Linked DNA regions of Homo sapiens: region 1 is linked to region 2. Evidence: promoter capture Hi-C in 16 types of primary human blood cells and fetal thymus (Javierre and others, 2016). All regions are on one chromosome and are shown on one strand. Each heading gives the region's core, a stretch centred on a gene start or on the middle of the fragment in contact. The rest is flanking DNA. Distances are from core to core; before and after follow the strand shown.

Region 1 (5,693 bases), core at 675-3,174, 41 kb before region 2:
AGACTCGTACAAAGACAGTCCTTAGGGCCCAAATAAGTGGGGCATAGAAGCACTCTGTACGCTGTAATGCAGCCCGTGAATACTGTACTATGGTTAGTATAAATAACAATCAGCTAACAGTAATGCTTTCGGTCTAGACCAATCACAGCATCTCAGAATCAATTGGCCCTTTGCATAGGCCCTGTTTGCAGCACTTCTAACATGCAGAAAACAGCCCTGCACAAAATGGTCTTCCCCTCAAGTTTCTGTGGCCTGAACTTGGAGGGAGGGAAGAAGAGTGGAGCCAGAAAGAAATACCTCATGTCTCCTTGTAAGGGTCACTTTTGGTCCACAGTCATTAGTTTGGGGTTGGAGGGGTGGTAGGGACCAAAACCAAGAATGAAGAAAAGGAGAGGGAAAGAGACAATTACACAAATGCAAAGCCAGATGCAATTTCAAAACAATGTGACAGGAGATCGACCCAAAGTTACAACATGGCTGAGCCCAAACCCACAGGCTTGGCCTCACTGTGTAGATGTACAGAAAGTCCCACAAGGAAGAAAGTCGTTTTAATGCTTTGACTCGCCTGATAAAAAAGAAACACATGTACACACACTTGTGTGTATGTATTTAAATAGACATGCACCCAAAAATAAAAAAGAGCCAGAAAGGGGAAGGCCGACTGGTCCCACCCATCCCCTTCGGTCTGAAACACTAACACCCTGGGGCCTTAAGAAGGAAGATTAGGGGTTCTGATTTTGCAGGGACTTTCCCTCTGCAGGGCTTGTTGGTGATCCCTAGGCCTGCTAGGAGGAAGTGTGAGTCTGAATACTCGAAGAAGACGACAATGGGCATGACCCATGATTCTTCAAAGTAAAGGTACCATTGGGCTCTCCTCCAAGAGCCTCACAATAGGCACCGCATATGGTCAGTCATTGAGCAGAAATCACTAATAGGCCAGCCCCAGCCTGACATCTGACCCAAGCCCCGCTTGATCAGCTTTCTCCTGTTCCTCTTCCCATTTATAATTCTTTCCCATTTACCCACCAGAAAAGTCAGGTTTTTCACCTTTTTAGAAATCATCTAGCTCTTGCTAAATAGACAAACCCTTTCTTACAATAGATTGCATTTTTCTCAGAAACAAAACAATCTGGACACTTTACTAGGTAGGCTGTACCTCTGAGTGTTTATGTCCTGTTCCTAAAAATTGGGTGCATTTTACCTTTTTTGCTTTATGTCACCCAGCTCTATTTTTAAACACTTTCTTCCCTGACAGTGAATATTTTATCACTATTATAATAGTCACGTTAACAAAACTACCTTCTTTTGGAAACCCCTGGCCACCTCCGTCCCTGGTCCTCTAGCTAAATACACACTTCACCACACTGCTGATGACTGGTTCCAAATAAACCGTTGGTTAACCATCTTGTATCTTCCCAAACCGAAAAAGTCACAGGAGGCTAAAGATCCCAGGCTGGCCAGCAGAGGTCATTCCAGGTACCCAGCTAGGATCTACAGTCAGACCCAGGAGTCCTCTGGGAGGAGCACCAGGACACATGCTAAGCTTAAGGGTTTTCCAGGGTGGCCACTTGAACCATTTTTACTTGATTATGTCCTCCTCAAGGAAAATAGAGCATACCTTTCAAAATGACCAAATTCAACTAGAGTTATTGAGTAAAACATTTTGCCCAAGTAAGATATTTAATTTCTTAGATTGCCTGATTTTGATTTCACTGTGGACCCCATGGCCTTTGTCATAATAATGGACTTGGCTAAAACACCACGATGGAAAGTTCTTAGTATCTGGACACTCTAAGATGGGAAGGCTGAAACTGAGGAATCTACAGGTCTAATAAATAAGAAAAAAAAAATGGAACCTGAAAAAAACTCACAAAGTCAGGTAATTCTTGTAAACCCAAGAGCTTTTAGAGAAGAAATATGACCTACCACGACTGGTCCTCCCCATGCACATGTTGTCTGGGGTGACGACTTCTTGTTTGATAGCAAAGTAGTCATTCTGCAAGGTGTCTGTCTGGAGAGGGTCTCGGAGAATGACCGAGGGGTAGTCATTCTCATACTTGAGGGAGAGGAGCTCTTCCGAGCTGATGGGATGGAGCGTCTGATAGGACTCTGTGATGAAGCTGGGCTCTGAGAACTCCGATGGTGGAACACACTGGGCATGCTCAATACCATAGCCTGGAAACAAAGGGTTTGCAAGTAAAGAGAGGAGAGATTTGTACCTAAAATAAGCAGTTTTCACCATCTACAGGGCCCTATGATGTGGGACAAGCTCCTTAGAGAATAAGGGAAAATACTTTAAATCAGAAAAGCTTGCATTTTTAACCTTGTCCACTACTAAACAGCTTTAGCCCTTGACAAGGTAATTGATTTCCTGACTTCATATCCTCATCTCTAAAATGGGGGTGATTGCGATTTTTCCCGGAGCACTGTGATGAAGATGAAATGAGGATAGAGGTCAAATGCCCACCAACATTCCCCACACAATAAGCTCTTGACACAGAGTAGTTAATATCATTGTGTCACTGGAATAAAAATTGTAATAACGTAAAAAGATAAAACGAAAAAAATAAAACCTGTTTCATATTCCCTGTAAAAGCACAGCCATCAGATAAGATGGTCCTATATCTCAGAGCTTACATTAGTGCAACAGGCCTACATTCATTGTTTCCCTCAGGCCATCTCTTCAGTATGGTTGGGTATCTTACACGAAAAAGGAGAAGACTGTATTTCCTATAATAGAATTTGAAGCTGCATAGCACACTCTTAAAGAAGGATTTTGGAGGAAATGCTGTTATCTCCACTAGTAAAAAGGAAAGAACAAAGACCAAGATCAAATCCCTAACCCAACCCTCTTTTGGCCATCGTAGTGCACAGTATCAAATAGGAACAAAAGTTTAGGGGTCTAGTTGCAGTCTCTCTGCATGACTTTCAGGTGAAGACATCAGAGAAGGATCCTAGTGTGTAGGAACTTGGTAGGTTAATGAAACATATATATAGGTTGAAACTTTGTGCTTTGTGGAAAATAATAAAATAAAGTAACAAAGAAGAGTCTACATCTAAGAAGATATTATTTTTGATAGAATTACCATGAAGGAGCCTGAGATTCACTGAGATAGGGGTCTTTTCCTAGTTTGCTATTATCATGAGAGAAGAGGGGTAGAAATGAACTTACTAATGAAGTAATCCGAGGTATAGCGGGATTCTGGATAGGCTGGGTTGACTCCATTAACTTGATATGGTTTCACATCCTCTGTAATGAACAGATAGGGAAGGAACAAAGAGGTCAATATTCAAGTCATGCTTGGCCTAAAAGGATCTTGGATGCAAAGACCACAATGATCTCAACCCCTTTTCTAAGAAATCTGCATACTCATTAACTGGGTTGGTATCTGAGTCTGTCCTGACTGTGGCCTTGTCTAAAGATGAGATCAAAAAAATATGACTAAGGTTATTATTTCAGTAGCTGCAAAATGGGATTTAGTATCTTGGAAAGAGAATCCATGAGTAATCTCTAAGGGCTCAGAAGGCATTCAGCATTCATTCTCAATGCATTCGTGCTGCGTGTATGTCGACCACACTATAGCCAAAGGCTTGAGTACATCCCAGGTTAGCAGGATCAATCCCCAACCCCCAAACTAATCAATTTCAAAATTTCTCAAAAATATATTGCAGTCTTTAGGCCATAGATTTTACGTTCTCCATTTCCTCTAACAGATGTCTGGTTTTTGTTTTGTATTTTTCCCATTGCCCTCAGGTTTCAAGTTCAGGCCCAGACAAGAAGCAGGACACTGGTAAGGTGACTCCATTTGGTGAAATGCGACTGCGCTTGTGTCAAGGGAGAGAAGAGCAACCCAGTCAAGCTCCTGCCCAGATGCCAACTCCCCTAGGAAAAGGAGAGGAAGGGAGACGAAGTGCACCTGCGGACAGAAAGCTCTGAACGACCCTGCAGTAAGCCTGGGATCCTCTAATTACCCTGGAACAAATGCCATGGCTCCGATTCTTGTATGGAGTAGTCTGATTATATTTCACCATAAGAATCTGACATAGAGTATGGGTTTGGGTTTTTCCTCAGGTATTTGATAGCTTGTTAGGAGCAAAGTCTGATGGGAAAACAAGTTTATGCCTGCACAGAAAAACAGTTCCCAGTTGAGATAAAATGATTAAACTTTGCTTTAGCAGTTTATCAGATTGAAACATCCCCGTACCTTTCACCTTCCACCCCACCCCAAACAGCTATGTTCTTTTGCTGCTGTGTTGCTTTAATTACAGAACAAAAGCTGTAGCCTCAGCACAAACATCATGCTCATCTCTTCAAGTAACTGAACCTGAAGAGGGAGAATTCTTTCTGCCTCTCTCAACAGAATATTGGGTGGGAAGATATGACTTTTGCTCTCAAACATACTGACTTATATCCTAATTCTCTTAAATTTTCTTACATTATTCCTTTACCCTAAGTGAGGCCAAACCAGTCTTAGCGGCCAGAAGGCCCCTGTGAATCCACATTATTATACAAAAAGCACAGGATGGGATGTTAAATTTTAAGTTAAATAAAAATATATTGAGGGCAGGCGCGGTGGCTCACGCCTGTAATCCCAGTGTTTTGGGAGGCCAAGGTGGGCAGATCACGAGGTCAAGGGATCAAGACCATCCTGGCCAACACGGTGAAGCCCTGACTCTACTAAAAATACAAAAATTAGCTAGGCATGGTGGCATGCGCCTGTAGTCCCAGCTACTCAGGAGGGTGAGGCAGGAGAATCGCTTGAACCTAGGAGGCGAAGGTTGCAGTGAGCCGACATCGCGCGACTGCACTCCAGCCTGGGTGACAGAGCAAGACTCTGTCTCAAAAAATAAATAAAATAAAATAAAATAAAAATATACTGAAAGTTGAAATAAAATGAAGAAAAGGAGATGAGTGATACTGAAGAAATCGCCTACCCTGAGCTTCATTTTACAGACAAGGACAATAATAGGACTTGTCCTTACTATCTCACAGTTATTTTGATAATCCAAAGAGAAAATGTATTTGAAAGCACTTTGGAAACAGGGAGACATGATAGAGATATTAATTGTAACTACAATCAGAGATGGGCTTAGATAGCCCAAAACACCTAGCAGCTCCATTTTGATAAATGGAGGAAAACAGCCTCTTAGTAGAATATACTGGGTTACACAGTCTGATTGAATCTGCTATTGTGTTTAGAAGTCAACAGTCAAATCAGATCTGTTAGGAGCCTGCCGTATCGTTTCCCTCTATAAACAGGTCGCTCATGTCAACACCTATGAGTGGGTGTCTGTGCATGGAGAACATGCCGGTGCTTTGCAACTGCCTGCCATCCTCGGTAAAAGCAGCCACAGAAAGACTCACCTAGTTCTTTCCTGTATTCCTTTATGTCTTATTTTTCAACAGAAAGTGAAAAGAAGGAATAAAGATAACATTTTTGAGCACAGAGAAATCTAGTTTGGGTCTCTCTTGAGCACTGCAGAATGGAATATATTCTTAACCAAAGGAAGGTATAATGCGGGGTAAAAGTGCTAATCCTGAGTTTTGCTCCCCTCCCCCAGCGTCTGTGCCAAGGGTTAGAGCTGATGACCACAGGGAAAGGATGGGCCTGGGTTAGAGAGGGCAATGGGCTTCTAGGCTTACAGTCAGCTGAAGGGCACTGCTGACTGCTGGTAACTGCAATTTATTTTAA
Region 2 (5,760 bases), core at 1,559-4,058:
ATACATTGGTTGTAATAGAGATAGTTTGTCCTAATTAACAAATCAACCAGTACATGTATATATCTAAATACATAGCTAGAACCAGGCACTGAGCTCCATCTTTGATTAACAGAAAGATTAAACATAAATCTTCCTGAGCAATCTCAGAGAAAGCTATTTTTAATGTTTCCTGATTTCTAAGCACATTTGAACTCCCAGCATTTGACTGTAACTGTAACCTCTGCCTCTGGTAAGTTTTGACACACAGGCTTACCTTCATCTAATCCCAGTTTTGTGCCCTTGAAGCCTTAGTAATTTGCAGATTTCCCACAGCAAATCGGGGAGGAAGCCAGGAACAGAAAAATCTGTGGCTCCTGGTCTAAACTCCAGATTAAATCCCTCCTTAGTGACCAGAGGAAAATATTTGTATGTGATAGTCCTAATTTTTGAAAGAACAAAGACTGTTGCAATCCAGCTGTGTTTCCACAAGGTATGAGAAAACAATGCTGGCCTCCAGATGACAAGAACAGACCCTTCTGGTCCTGGGAAAAGCCTAGAGAAACAGCTGATGAATGAATTGTACATTTACACGTCCAAATGAACCACAAAAAAAAAAAGGTTCTTGAATCAATTCTGCCTTACTCACTATGAATTCATCAGGAGAAGAAGTGAACAAATCTAGAGTTGCTTTGGGGAATTTTGTTTTGTTGATGTTGTATTGAGAAAATGTTGGCATTTTTTAATCCAAGTGTGAGTACTTCTCTATTTTCAAATGCAGATTCCTCAGAGCAACTCCTTTCTCTCTTCCCCAGTTTGCTCCTCAACTTTCTTCCCCAGACTAGCCTAAACACTGCTGCTAACATCCACCCAAATTAGATACTAAAAAAGCCCACCATGATTAAACTGTAAACACTTTCCACTCTAGCAATGAGGAAAATTATTCTTTCTAATTCTTCCATAGTGACAACTCAGATAGTCAATCATCCGTTTCCTAATCCAGTCCTGAAGCACAGAAACAAAATGAGTGAATGTCCAAATCAAGGAATAGGGTTGCGTAAAGCAGCAGTTTGGAGAGATAGCCAGGCGCCACCACAGGCTGCCAGGAAAGTTACCTCCAGATGATATTAATTATGAATATTTATGCCATCAGAAGTTATGCATCGAACCCTGGATTTGGATGAAGAGCACTAATAAGGTCATGTTAAAATATTTTTTACATATTTAAGATATAATAATCTGATCAGGTCTGCCAGGGTCATGTTTCATTAATCTAATCAATGTTGATAAATGAAATTTTTATTCATTCTCTTTAGGACACAAGTAGATTTTTCTAAATGTTCATATGGACTTTAAATGATATTTCTATGTTATCATACGCTAAAACATTGATGCCTAGCCTAGTGCCTAAGACATTACAGAGCTCAATAAATATGTGTTGAATGATGAACTATCAACTTTTTGGTCACTATGGGCTTCCTAATTCAATGATTAAGTGAGTTTGATATGCTCTGGCTTGTGAAGATGAACTAAAAAGTGTCAGAGGCTGTGCCCTTTTCCCTTCATAGTAGAGCAGAACCTCTATCCCCAGCACTCACGTCCACTCGGTTACATGTATGCCTCAGTGTCCCCACCAGCCAAACAACAGCAGCCAAGCGTTGCCTTTCATCCACTTGGGCAAGATACTTCAATACCATATCTGGTTTTTAAGGCACTCAGGAAAAAAAAAAATCAATCAAATAAATACTTCTGTGCTTGTGCTTGTACTGCAGCAGTCTGTTCCTCCTGCATTTGGGAAAAAACAGAATTGTATTTTTAAGCATTCCTTAGACTTCGGCTAATTATATCCTACCAAGTGCTGAATTGCCTTACACTAGGAACGTGAAGTCAATAAGGGCCAAGAAAAGTCCGCAGGAGTTGGGGAACAGAAGAGTGGAGCTAGACAATAATATTAAGAAAATAGTCACCTTCATACAGGAATTCCTCAAGCACATGGAGTATGTAAAAAGCATACTTTCTTTTTTATTTATACTCCTCCCTCAACTCCACCCCAACTTCAATAAAAAAGAAATATAAATATACACTTAATGTTGAACAATCATGGAAGACAGACTTTCCCTCTCCAGAAGTGTCCTAGCATGTTATCTACTCCTGAGTCTTGAACTTCAACAAAACAAAGAATCTCTGAGTTTTGAGCTAAAATATGCTTTACTGAAGGTAGGTACAAAAACATTCAGACCACTAACGGCTGATCCAGAACCAGTTTATGACTCACAGATGTTGATTTACTGGTATAAATGTAAGATTTAGAAAAAAAAAAAAAAAAAAAAAAGCCCTCAATTAACAACAACCTGTCTGAGCTGCATTTGTGGTCTCATTTTTCTCTGAGAAAAGGCAACAGTCTCTGTCATACACAGAAACAAGCTTTGAAAGCTTACTTCTAAGGCAAGTGGTTTCTATGTGAGAAGTTTAGTCATTAAAAGTCACACTAGGGAAGAAAAATGCCTGGCACTTCAATATCTACATTATCAAGCAGCAATAAAATGGAAAATTAGAGATAGGAAGGAAAATTAAAATAACTCTCTTAATTAAACTTGGATGCCAAAAAGCCTTAGGGTCAGTTAAGGGACCCAAGCCAGGGGACTCAGATGGTACTGTTGCTGACTGCAGGCTGGCTCTGTGACCTCACCAAAGCCACTTAACCTTTTTGTGTCACAACCTCATCTCTGTTTCAGGGAATAAAATCAGCCCTAGCTCTCCCTAGAATGGAACACAGACTCATTGGCTATTGTTTAGAAGGCACAATAAACAATGAGGGTAGGAGGAGCTGCAGTCAGGAGGGAAGAAGGGAGGGTGGGGTGGGGTTGGGGGAGAGGGGAGGACTTGGGAGCCTGTTTGCCCTGGAAAGCTCAATATAAGAAAACAAAGAGGATAGTAGTGTGGGCTTTGGAATAAGACTCAGGTTCAAATTCTTACTCTACCAACTAGCCAGCTGAATTGCCACAGGTAAGTCATTTAAACAATCCCGAACCTCAGTTCCTCCATGTTTCAACTAGGGATAATAGCAGCACACACCTTTTAAGGCTATTTGAATGATTAAATGAGATAATGTATGCAAAGAATTTAGCACAGTGTCTAGGTGAGAATTAGTATTTGATTATTGTTATTAAGATCTAGTATACGGTAGAATATGTGGGAAATCACATTAAATGTCTGTCTACAGCCATCTCTTTGCAGAATAGCTTGGATGCTCAATTTTCCTGAACGATCTCCAGCGAGAGATAGAACAACTATCACCACATTTCATTTAAAAATCTCTTCAAGACCCTTCCTCAGTTCTTAAACTGGCAACCTGCCCAGCATCAGCCTCACTTGAGAAATTCGAGAACTACCTGATTGGAGAAGAGAACTAGATTTATATTTGTTTTGAGTCACAGAAAAGTGACAGTTTAAATTCTGAAAGAAGATCACATTTGTAGTGCCTCTTTGGAGACAAAACCTTAGGTCTTGGATTTGTCACATGTTAGAGCTCAATGGGAGTTTATCAGTGCTCTCCAAGTCCAGCACTCCTATTTACCAGAGGTGAAAAATGAGTGTGAGTGAGGAAATTATTATTTCCAGGGCCACACAATCTAAAAAAGTCAGTGTCAGTACTAGAACCAGATGCCCTGATAGCAGTTCTCTCCCTGGCATCTCCTTGCATTTACTTTGCATTTCACTTTGGCAGGAGAAGTACCAGACACCCTTGAGACACAAGACAGGATACAATGGACATGGGAGTAGATAGATGAGCAGACTCAATTTCTAGAAATCCAACTTCTCTACACTGGATGTATTGTCTTTGGGCAAATACATTGCAGGATAACCACACTATGGTTCCCTGTGGGAGACAGCTTGGCATGGGCTGTCAGGAGAGAAAGGGCCTGGGTTGGCTCTATTGCTGTCTGCAGTTTCTTTAGACTATAATTATGAACCATTCAACTGCATCTGCAGCCCCAACAATGTGGGGTGGATTGGCCTAATCCACAGACCAAGCGACATTTTAAAATCCAGCAGTTTAGACACGTATTCCTCTTGCAGCAAATCAAACATGGCTCAGACAGGAAGAGGTAAGGAGCTGCCCAAGGTTAGAGGGTTCTGAGGTCTCATCCACACTCAGTGTTGTGTGCTTCCCTGAAGCAGGCTGAGCATGTTGCCTGGAATTGCTGCAAATGCAGAATGCAGGCTACTCTGTGAGCCTTTGGGGATCATGTAATTGGGATTCCAATTTAAATTGTCCTGAATTGGACTCTTGAGGAGGTAGAGGGATAATGGCAATAGCACAGATGGCAAGAGAACCAACATCCTTTAATAATATGAGAGAAGAGGACAGCCAGTCTCCTAGAAGCTCTGCATCCCAGGGCTACAGGATTTCACCCACTGTCCAAGGCTGCAGGTGGTTTCATCCTGGTGGAAGGCTAAGGCCTTCCTCTGATCTTACTCTGCTTTTCTCTTGGGTTACAAAGACAACATCAAACTTCAAAACAGATGTTCTCTGCAGTTGTGGTTTGAATCTTACATTAAGACAATTTCACTGTGGAATCTTTTCCCCTCTCCCCACTACTTTCATTTAAAATGCCAAATCAATTGCCCCAAAAGACTAACATTTACCACCCCAGAGATCAAGAAGCAGAGATAAGTGGAGCACAAAAAGGAGAAATAGCCCTGAAAGGAAAAGGGACGGTGGTACAGGAGGAAGTAGTGGAAGGGAAGTCCTCTGAGAACAATGGAAGTGTAAGTCGAGGACAGAGAAGGGGAGGAGATGAGGAGGTAGAGTCACAGTGATTTTATGTTCTTGTCGTTCTGGGACTTCAGTCCCCAAGATTTCAAAATGCAGTTAAGACCTAGTAAAGTATCCCATACTTTAATTAATTGTCTTGCATGGCCAACAGTCATGGAACTACAGAAAACAGATCAATGGGAGGTCCTCATGCTGGAAGAGATGCAAAGGATCCAGGATAGAATGGAGGTGAAAGGATCTCAGGAGGTCACAGAAGACACAAGGGAAGGTCAAGCTGACAATCTAGGCAGAATATAGAGTGTGTTTCTCAGTCTTTTCCTCACATGGACATTTGCAGTACACAAAGAATTTCCCTCACAGAAGCTGTCACCCCACCCCTGCAAGTTGCCACTTTTCTGCTCAGCTCAAGAGCACACTCCTAGTACATATTTGAATATGCGTGTCAGTCTCCTACACTCTTTAAAGGCAGCAACTGAGGTTCAGTCATTATTACACTCCATGGTGTTTAGCTCAAGGTAGTAAGAGCCCCATAAATTATGTTCATTATTTAATTAATGAACAGTTAACTTCCTAACATCCCCGTAACATTTTTACAGAAAAATGAAGCTCAGATACCAGTTTTGTTTTGCCTAGTTCGGTCTGAAGTGAGACTCAAATTTGCCCAAAGTTTAAGATTAAAGATCCAACCAACTGACTCATTTCTAACTAAAAAGGTCTTCGTAAAGTTTTATTCTGTTCCTCCCATTCCTCCCATCCCCTTAAAGGAGAATGTTGCTAAGATCACAATATTCATTTTACTTTTTATCTAATTTTTTATTCTGAGACTTCATGTAAAAAATGACATTTGGCTCACCACGAAGTAAATCAGTTGTTTGATTGTCAGCCTGGACGTTTTATACATCACGCTATTCATATTCTCAGATGGCTGCTCAGAAGCAGTCTTCAGGAATTTCCGAACTTCGAGTTGAATCTTTTATTTCACTGGCTTCCACAAAGGTAAGATG

The links. Contacts are between HindIII fragments. The CHiCAGO score rates a contact against its expected background, and 5 or more counts as called.
Region 1: a fragment that was not itself captured here is called in contact with the fragment with the promoter of ETS1-AS1 in region 2 in 7 of 17 cell types (activated CD4 T cells, total CD8 T cells, non-activated CD4 T cells and 4 more); the score reaches 11.2 in activated CD4 T cells.

The regions. Positions count from the first base shown.
Region 1 is chr11:128,482,897-128,488,589 of GRCh38, forward strand. It overlaps ETS1 (ETS proto-oncogene 1, transcription factor), which reads right to left. Exons shown (of 10, transcript NM_001143820.2): 6 at 3,173-3,250; 7 at 1,927-2,175. Among named protein-coding and RNA genes, the nearest start is that of MIR6090, 37 kb to the right of the region's middle. RefSeq lists enhancers at 162-211, 582-651. The HindIII fragment of the contact is 766 bases long and covers 1,542-2,307 here.
Region 2 is chr11:128,523,334-128,529,093 of GRCh38, forward strand. ETS1-AS1 (ETS1 antisense RNA 1) reads left to right here and starts at 2,809. Exons shown (of 4, transcript NR_120581.1): 1 at 2,809-2,982; 2 at 3,200-4,085; 3 at 5,678-5,752. The region is part of intron 3 of ETS1 (ETS proto-oncogene 1, transcription factor); the gene reads right to left. RefSeq lists a cis regulatory region at 1-135. The HindIII fragment of the contact is 5,425 bases long and covers 2,408-5,760 here.